3 separate regions of the Homo sapiens genome follow, and regions 1 and 2 are each linked to region 3. The links are contacts of gene promoters, found by promoter capture Hi-C in blood cells and fetal thymus (Javierre and others, 2016). All regions are on one chromosome and are shown on one strand. The core of a region is centred on a gene start or on the middle of the fragment in contact, and the rest is flanking DNA. Distances in the headings are between cores, read along the strand shown. Region 1 overlaps AKR1B1 (aldo-keto reductase family 1 member B). Region 2 holds the start of LINC03060 (long intergenic non-protein coding RNA 3060). Region 3 holds the start of AGBL3 (AGBL carboxypeptidase 3).

Evidence for each region. Contacts are between HindIII fragments. The CHiCAGO score rates a contact against its expected background, and 5 or more counts as called.
Region 1: a contact is called between a fragment that was not itself captured here and the fragment with the promoter of AGBL3 in region 3, in 6 of 17 cell types (non-activated CD4 T cells, naive CD4 T cells, total CD4 T cells and 3 more). The highest score is 7.4, in non-activated CD4 T cells.
Region 2: a contact is called between a fragment that was not itself captured here and the fragment with the promoter of AGBL3 in region 3, in 2 of 17 cell types (naive B cells and total B cells). The highest score is 5.4, in naive B cells.

The regions. Positions count from the first base shown.
Region 1 is chr7:134,449,723-134,452,422 of GRCh38, forward strand. It overlaps AKR1B1 (aldo-keto reductase family 1 member B), which reads right to left. Exons shown (of 10, transcript NM_001628.4): 2 at 1,864-2,031; 3 at 1,064-1,180; 4 at 1-75. Among named protein-coding and RNA genes, the nearest start is that of AKR1B1, 8.0 kb to the right of the region's middle. The HindIII fragment of the contact is 5,053 bases long and covers 1-2,700 here.
Region 2 is chr7:134,430,907-134,433,606 of GRCh38, forward strand. It overlaps LINC03060 (long intergenic non-protein coding RNA 3060), which reads right to left and starts at 1,514. Exons shown (of 3, transcript NR_183392.1): 1 at 1,408-1,514. The HindIII fragment of the contact is 2,443 bases long and covers 135-2,577 here.
Region 3 is chr7:134,985,069-134,987,768 of GRCh38, forward strand. AGBL3 (AGBL carboxypeptidase 3) reads left to right here and starts at 1,440. Exons shown (of 17, transcript NM_178563.4): 1 at 1,440-1,633. RefSeq lists enhancers at 1,342-1,641, 1,652-1,791, 1,872-2,131. The HindIII fragment of the contact is 3,121 bases long and covers 384-2,700 here.

The sequences.
Region 1 (2,700 bases), core at 112-2,611, 540 kb before region 3:
CCACGTGTCCAGAATGTTGGTGTCACTGGGAACCACATTGCCCGACTCATCCAATGGGAAAAATTCCTTCCCAGGCTGTCATTACAATAAAAAACAAACAAACAAAACAATCAGTAATAGTCCTTCACAGACCTGCTGGGGGAAGCTGGCATCTAAAACAATTCTAAACCACCACAGCTGGCTAGGGATAATCTGTGTGCCACTATGAAAAGGAAATAGGCAGATAGCCAACACTTCTTTATCAAACGGGCTGGAGCTGAGACTGTCAGACGGAGACATGGACACTACTTGGTCACAGAGACTAGCCCCGCCACTGACTGCAATGTGTGGATACAGGAAGGACTCAAGACCAGGACTCACAGGGCCCAAGGCCTGGCGGGTCACTGGCCTATAAAACTACCACCTGGCCCAGCCTCCCCAGCTTACCCCTAAAATCAAAAGATAAAAGTCAAGTCCCTTCAGCCCTGATATGCTGTGGTGCAATAAAACAGGGCTACGGGATAAAGCTAAACCCACACTTTGAACCTGGCTCACAGCAGAAAACTGAGGCAGTGGCTAGAAAAAAGGCAAAAGACAAAGTAACTCTCAAGTTCTTCTTGTGCCAACAACTAGACTGCAAATAGTTACCGGGCCTCCACAGGACAGGGTATGCATGTAGAACGTGGGTAGGGACTCATGTGTATGGGGGTTGGTGTGTGCACGTGCCTGGAGGGGAGGGCCAGGGCTGACCGTGCCTCATGGCTGTGTGCACTACAGACAGCAGCTGTGTTTGCTGACAGTTTTAAATTGCACATCTACCAACTGGCAAAGAGCAGTGCTCCTCAAACTTTGAAGAAGTGTGCGTATGAGTCACTGCTGGTGCGGATTCAAATGGCCTGCGTGGGGCCCGAGACTGTGATTTCTAAGACGCTCCCAGGTGATGCCAGTGCTGATGGTCCACTGGCTATACCTTGAGCAGCAAGAACAGAAAGTCACCCACACGTAATCTGCTAAGGGAGCTCAAAACACACCACAGGTTGCACCTGAGCCCCAAGGGACCTGGTCTGCACCAGGCATCCCATACCTTAAAGCCAGTCGGCCAGTGAATAAGGTAGAGGTCCAGGTAGTCCAGCTTCAGGTCGCTGAGTGTCTTCTGGCAGGCTCCTTTCACCAGGCCCTTCTCATGGTACGTGCACCACAGCTAAGCCAGCGAGAGGGCACATGTCATCATTGCCAGCCACAAGGCAGCTTCCTGGCTGGAAAGACAGAGCAGTCTCCTCTCCCCAAAACCCATTTGCTTTACCATGATGCTGTGAATGGTTGTGAGGGCATTTCCACTGCGTACTGGATCCTAACTTTCCAAAGGCAGGCAGGATGACCAGGTCACAGAGACCTCTTACAAGGACCAGAGGACACAAAATGGAATGGACAGATTGGCTAGCCTGCCCTAGGCCTAAGCAAGAACTCTCGAAACTTTCCCCCCGGGCTGGTGTTTGTGGAGCCAGCCCCATCCTCCTGCCTCATGTCCTTTGTGCATCAGTATCTCAGGTCAAAGACAGTGGCTAGCACTGGAGATTCAGTTTGCAGATGGGAACCAAGTTCCATCCTTGAAAGCGACTCCCTGGAAAGGGAGGGCCAATCCACAACCTCAGCCTCATCAGCACGGGACTCTAAGCAATGGGCCCAGATGGAATGACCATTCAACAGAGAGCCAAGGATGGGCGAGCTCTGGAGCCCTGTATGGCCGTGGGTGATACGTTTCCCCGGGAAGAATCGCCCATCAGTGAAAAGTGTAGCTGTATTGAGTGTGGACTTGGCTTTGGGCTGATGCACCAACAGATGATGGGACCGAGAGCCCCTTCCAGCCCCACCGCGGAACGATACCTTGCTGACGATGAAGAGCTCCTCACGCTTCACCACCTGCTCCCTGAGCTTCTCCTGAATGGCCACCCCCACCTCATTCTCATTCTGGTACACATGGGCACAGTCGATGTGGCGGTACCCGACGTCAATGGCCACCTTCACGGCCTCAGTCACCTGCCCTGGAGGGGACTGAAAGGAGAAAGAACGTGAGCCCCGCAGAATGCAGAGTCTGCACAGCAAGGAGGAGGGGCAGTGGCAGCCACCGATACCTGCTGACCAGCCTGCCACTTTGTTCAGCAAAGACAGACCACGTGCACTTCCTCAGCAGCATTCTGGACTATCAGCCTCAGACGCGGGGGATGGAAGTGAAAGGCCACACAGCATTGCCCTGTAGGAGAATCTGACAGCCACTTAAGTGTAGGTGAGATCACTTTTAAAAGATATGCTGAAGCCATCTCATTTTCTTGCTTCTTCACATCCACTGATTTGCAAACCACTGTATTAAAAACATTTCCCCACACTCTGAATGCTGAGATAGTAAGGGAAACCATTTCCTTCAAATATCTCAAAATATTTCAAAAATAGATGTCCTATGGACCCCAATTCCCATGTGGCTCCCCAGTTCAGCCAGTGAATGCCTGCCCCTTACGCTCTCTTTTCATGCATGGCTTCTGATACCGGCAGTCGCTTGTTTTCAAGCGGTTCTGGGAGATTATCATGAAGTTAAGCACATCACTGATGTTTATTCAAAGGCCCATGTGTCAATTCTCACTGTATGAGGATCTGCTTCAAGGGGTGGAGACACGGGAGATGGCCCCTCAGAGGTATCAGCAGAGAGAAATAAGTTAAAGGGAAACG
Region 2 (2,700 bases), core at 106-2,605, 550 kb before region 3:
TGCAACCCTCTTACAGGGGGTCACTGTTACATTATATGGGCTGGGTCAGGAGGTGCAAAGCTGGCATAAAATCAAGGATAGTGTGTTTTCTTTTCATCATTTTTCATGCCAGGATCCCCTTGGCAAGCTGCGGAAGCTTTTGGAGCCCTTCTAAGAAAAATGTTTTTAAGTACATAAAATTAAACACACAAGATTACCAAGGAATTCTTTAGTTTTGAAAGACTGCTATCACAATATTTTTAAAAACCAAATTTGTAATATGATAATATATAGGCTTTTTATTAACGACTAAATAACAGGTCTAGTGACAGGTTTAATAACTCTGGTAATTTCAAAGTAGTGATGCACATAGATGACATCGTGAGATATTCCTAGTAACAGTAATGGGATATAGCAAGAGCTGTGACTTTCTATTTGTGACAAAGTTACAGGCCCCACTTCTGTTCTCTATATTCACGATAGAATGTAATATTTTCCATGTCCATGTTCACAGACCTCTCGGATTCAATCCAGACCTCTTGTGGGTGCCAGTTTAAGAACTGCTGCATGGGCCATGCACGGTGGCTCACACCTGTAATCCCAGCACTTTGGGAGGCCAAGGCGGGCAGATGGCTTGAGGTCAGGAGTTCAAGACCAGCCTGGCCAACATGGCGAAACCCCATCTCTACTAAAAATACAAAAATTAGCCGGGTGTGGTGGCAGGTGCCTATAATCCCAGCTACTCAGAAGGCTGAGGCAAGAGAATCGCTTGAACCTGGGAAGCGGAGGTGGCAGTGAGCCGATATAGCGCCACTGCACTCCAGGCTGGGCGACAGAGTGAGACTCTATCTCAAAAAATAAATAAATAAGAAAAGAACTGCTGCACAAGAGTGAATGTTTGAAGCAAGCAGGAGGGAGGCGAATTGCCCAAAGATCAGGAAGAAAAGAAAGAGGCTGGGATGGTCATAGATCTGCCGAGGAGCACAAGAAGTGAAGAGGAAAAATGACACGGAAGATGCCAGAATGTGGACTGATGGAAGTAAAAGGGCAGGAATGGTCTGACAGATGTCTCTGTTGACAGAGGATACCCCACCCAGAATACAGCCCGTCAGAAACGGGAATGTTCACAGTGGCCCAGAGCGCGGACTTTGAAGCCTGACACACCTAGGCGTGAACCCCCGCCCTGCTGCGTTTATCAGCACGTATTTTGCACAAGTCATTTAACTGCTGTGTCTTAGTTTGTCTTCTGTTTAGTGGGGATAATAATACATCCCTTACAAAATTGCTTTGAGCAGCAGTCTCCAACATTTTTGGCACCGGGAACTGGTTTTGTGGAAAACAATTTTTCCACAGACCTGGCGGTGGGGAGGTGGTTTCGGGATATTATTATTACATTTTAATACATAATGAGATAATTATACAACTCACCATAATGTAGAATCAGTGGGAGCCCTGAGCTTGTTTTCCTGCAACTAGACGGTCCCATCTGGGAGTGATGGGAGACAGTGATAGGTCATCAGGCGTTAGATTCTCATAAGGAGCGCGCAGCCTAGATCCCTCGCATGCGCAGTTCACAGTAGGGTTCATGCTCCTATGAGACGCTAATGCCGCTGCTGACCCGACAGGAAGCGGAGCTCAGGCGGTAATGCGAGAGGGGAGTGGCTGTAAAAACAGATGAAGCTCTGCTCGCTCGCCCATCGCACGCCTCCTGCTGTGCGGCCCCGTTCCTAACAGGCCATGGACTGGTACCGGTCTGTGGCCCCGGGAGTTGGGGACCCCTGGCTTTGAGGATTAAATGAGACAGTGTATGTAAAGGGCTTTTTACTGCACCTATTGGATTGTACCACTTCCATCAATAGCTCTGGCAACAGTATCATTGTCGTCGCTGTTACTAGGAAGGTCCACTTCCCAGCAGTAAGCAGGGCCTCCCACCAGGGATTACCAAAAATCATTGTTGACCATTTGTGGCCAGAAGGGGGAAGCATACACCACACTATAAGCTCAGGAGGCTAAGGACGGGGAGTGGCGAGTGTGGATGGGGACTTCCTTTTGCTCACACAGGCTGAACTCGATGACCGAGGCTTCCTTCGCCCCCTTTGCTTGGCCATGGTGCTCGGAAGCCTACCGGTCCTTGCTGTAGGACCAAGCGCACCCAGACTGCCTAGGCACTGTCAGGGATGTTCTGGTGAGGAAGGCAGGCCAGGGACCCGGCAGAGACCAGCTGGTGTATATCCCATTCTAGCCAAGCAGCATTTGAATCACATACATCGAGAGGGCAGGTGCTGGGGTCAGGGAAGAATTCTACCACACAGTAGTTGGAGCTACGTACTTCCTTCAACTCTTCATGTTATCTAACTTTTCACCTGCTTTCTTTTTGGTAGGAATATCATCTGCCCTCCACACAGTCCCAGGAACGAACAGGCTTTACACATGCTGTGCCCAACTTAGAAACATCTAACCTAGAATGGCCTGTTCTGTCCTCCCTCACCCCACCATGAAGAAATTATTGCCCAGCCTGGGCCACATTGTGAGACTCTACATTAAGAAAAAAAAAAGCCAGGTATGGTTGTGCACACTTGTAGTCCCAGCTACTTGGGAAGCTTACTGGGAGGATTGCTTGAGCTGGGGAAGTTGAGGCTGCAGTGAGCCATGATCGCATCACTGCACTCAAGTCTGGGTGACAGAGCAAGACCCTGTCTCAAAAAAAAAAAAAAAAAAAAA
Region 3 (2,700 bases), core at 190-2,689:
TGAACCCCAAAGGCAGAGGTTGCAGTGAGCTGAGATTGCACCACAGCACTCCAGCCTGGGCGACAGAGCAAGTGAGATTCTGTCTCAAAAAAAAAAAAAAAATCCTAAGTTTTTAAAATTATGCATTAAGATCATTTTTCTTCCCATGGACTACTTGGTATGTGATAATATAACTATTTGGACTAAAAATCACGAGACTTAAGTCTCTCAGCCCTGCCATTAATTTCTTATATAACCTGGTTAGACCATTTCTCAGTTTTACCTTGTACAGCTGACATCCTATGGCTTGCAGCCATGACTAAAATCCAACAGAAAAACAGATTACATAAATAAAGATTTCTCTGTGCATGTCACCTTTAGTGATTTATGTATGGCATAAAACAAGCTTCAACTATAAGAGCTACTTTTCAAGAGGTTGATCTAAGATATACTCTATTAATATTCTCTGGCCAAGGTCTAATCTGGAAGGTTCATACTTTTAAACTGCTGACCTCAAAAACACCTATTTTCAGATACTTACAAAATACAAAGAGATTATGTTAACCCATTTCCATGCTTAAGCCATAGTGCTTTGCCCTTTATTCTACTTTCAAACTTGCTACCATTTATTATCTCCATTTCTACAATATCACGAATCTCATGACATATAACGCTTTGTGAAAAGTGTTTATTTACATTCTTATATCATCAAAATCTAGACTTTTTTTCAGCTGTACTTGGAAAACTTTTCCAAATAGATTACCTTACCCTGTAGAGCTAAAGATGAGGGAAAAAATCAATATGGGATGTTCATGAATAACGTCTGTTAACTAAATGAGACTACATATAGTGATTTGCAGTCATCAGGAAAACAGTGTTAAATATGCTAGCTGACGATTGCTATAAAGAATCTCTGAGCTGATAATTTTGAGAATTCACCCTAGTTCATCTATGACTCTCCATTTAGTATTTAAGGAGAAAAGCCTCATTTTCCAGAATCGAATAAGCGAATTAATCGCACAATTGTGTAGAATGGAACTCAGTCTGTAAAAAATCAAGACCAACGTACTTTTTAATATTCTAACATCTCCAAGTAGTAGTTACAAGTATTGTACCCATGAAGTCCAGGTAATTAATTTGTTCAATGTCACACTGTTAAAAGTCAGGTGGGCTCCAAAGCACAGTCCTAACCAGCATGCTCTACTGCCTCCTCTGAGGCAACAGCCGAAGTGCAGACCACTGGGAATAAATAGCTGCCCGGTCTTCCCCACTCCTAAATTCTCCCGACAGACCCCAAAGCCTCTCTGAGAGCCTCTCTGACCGCCCTGCGGCCCACCCCGAGTTCCCGGCATCCTCTGGGATCCCTCTTCCTGGAGCCAAAACCTACGCAGGCTCCTTTCCTCCGAGCTGGTTGCTAGGTGATCTCCGAAGGCTGTCCGAAGTCTCGCGAGGGCGGACCCGTTGCCTGATGACGAGAGTTGGGAGTGTGGCTGGGGCTGCGGATCTCCAGCAGTGGCGTTACTTCTAGCGGCTGGATACCGGGTTCTCCGCGAGATCGCGAGATCCCGAGATATTCTCCCCGCACGGAAGCGACGACTGGCCTGGCCAGAGGACTCGCGTGGGAGCGAGGTGCCGGCCCCGACAGGACGGTGAGGTATGCAGAAGTAAGGCGGGGCGCCCCCTGCGGGAAGCGAGCGCGCCCCGGAAAATGAGCGCCTCCCCACACCAAGGTGTCCAGGAGTGAGTGCGGGAAGGAACTCGGCCGCCCGGAGTTGTGGCCTCATCGTGCTTCCCGCCAAAAACGCCTTGGTACTGTCGGGACGCGGCTAAGCGTGGACGCGCCCGCATCTGCCCCTCCTCCGCAGTGGTGGAAGACACCCGCGGAGCGCCGGTGGATAAGGGCCGTTTCCTGAGACCAGAGCTGTATCCGCAGCAGGTCAGCACTTCGTGCGCCCTGTGTGCACCTGTAAGGAATGGAATTTAGGCCAGTCGGATTTTCCAAATGTGGAGTTGTGATGCCCAGGCAGAAACTTCAGTTTCTTAGGACTGAAGGTGTCATCTATGAGACAGTCGGTTCCGTGGCATTGGCAGTGATTTGCCATAGAGCTTGGACTTAACTTATATGTAGTCCACGCTCCAAAACACGCTTCCTGTAGAGAGGGGCGTAAACTAATAGATTTGAAATTGTCGAGTCCTTTGGTCTCTCAAGAACGATGGGAACTTGACAAGAAATTTCGATTATTCCCTGGTCTTGATATTACCCACATGGGAAGATACTTGCATAGAATGGTAATGGTCATTACCAATACAACCTTCTGGTAGCTATTTAGATTTCTAAGAATAAGAATAATATAAATGAATATTAGAACAGACAGTATCTACAGAATAATAATCAAAATGTAAAGTCTTGTCACTTGAACTTTTGGTCAAGTGAAAATCAAGGAGAAAACTTAAAATTATATTGCTACATTTCAGTAAGTGACTATAATTTTTAAATTCATTATCTTTTAATGCCTCAGGATCATTCTGAACTTGCTGTGTAGTATTTAATTGTAAATATAAAATGTGAATGATTTGGCTGTATACTCTGGAAATTCCTTTTAATTAAATGATTTGCTTGATTTGTCTTATTGTGGTTGTTGTCTCGTATAGTCATGGAAAATTCCTTTAACTCTTTGAAATTGAAGGTTTTATTAGTTGTATTCTAATTAGTTTTTAGAG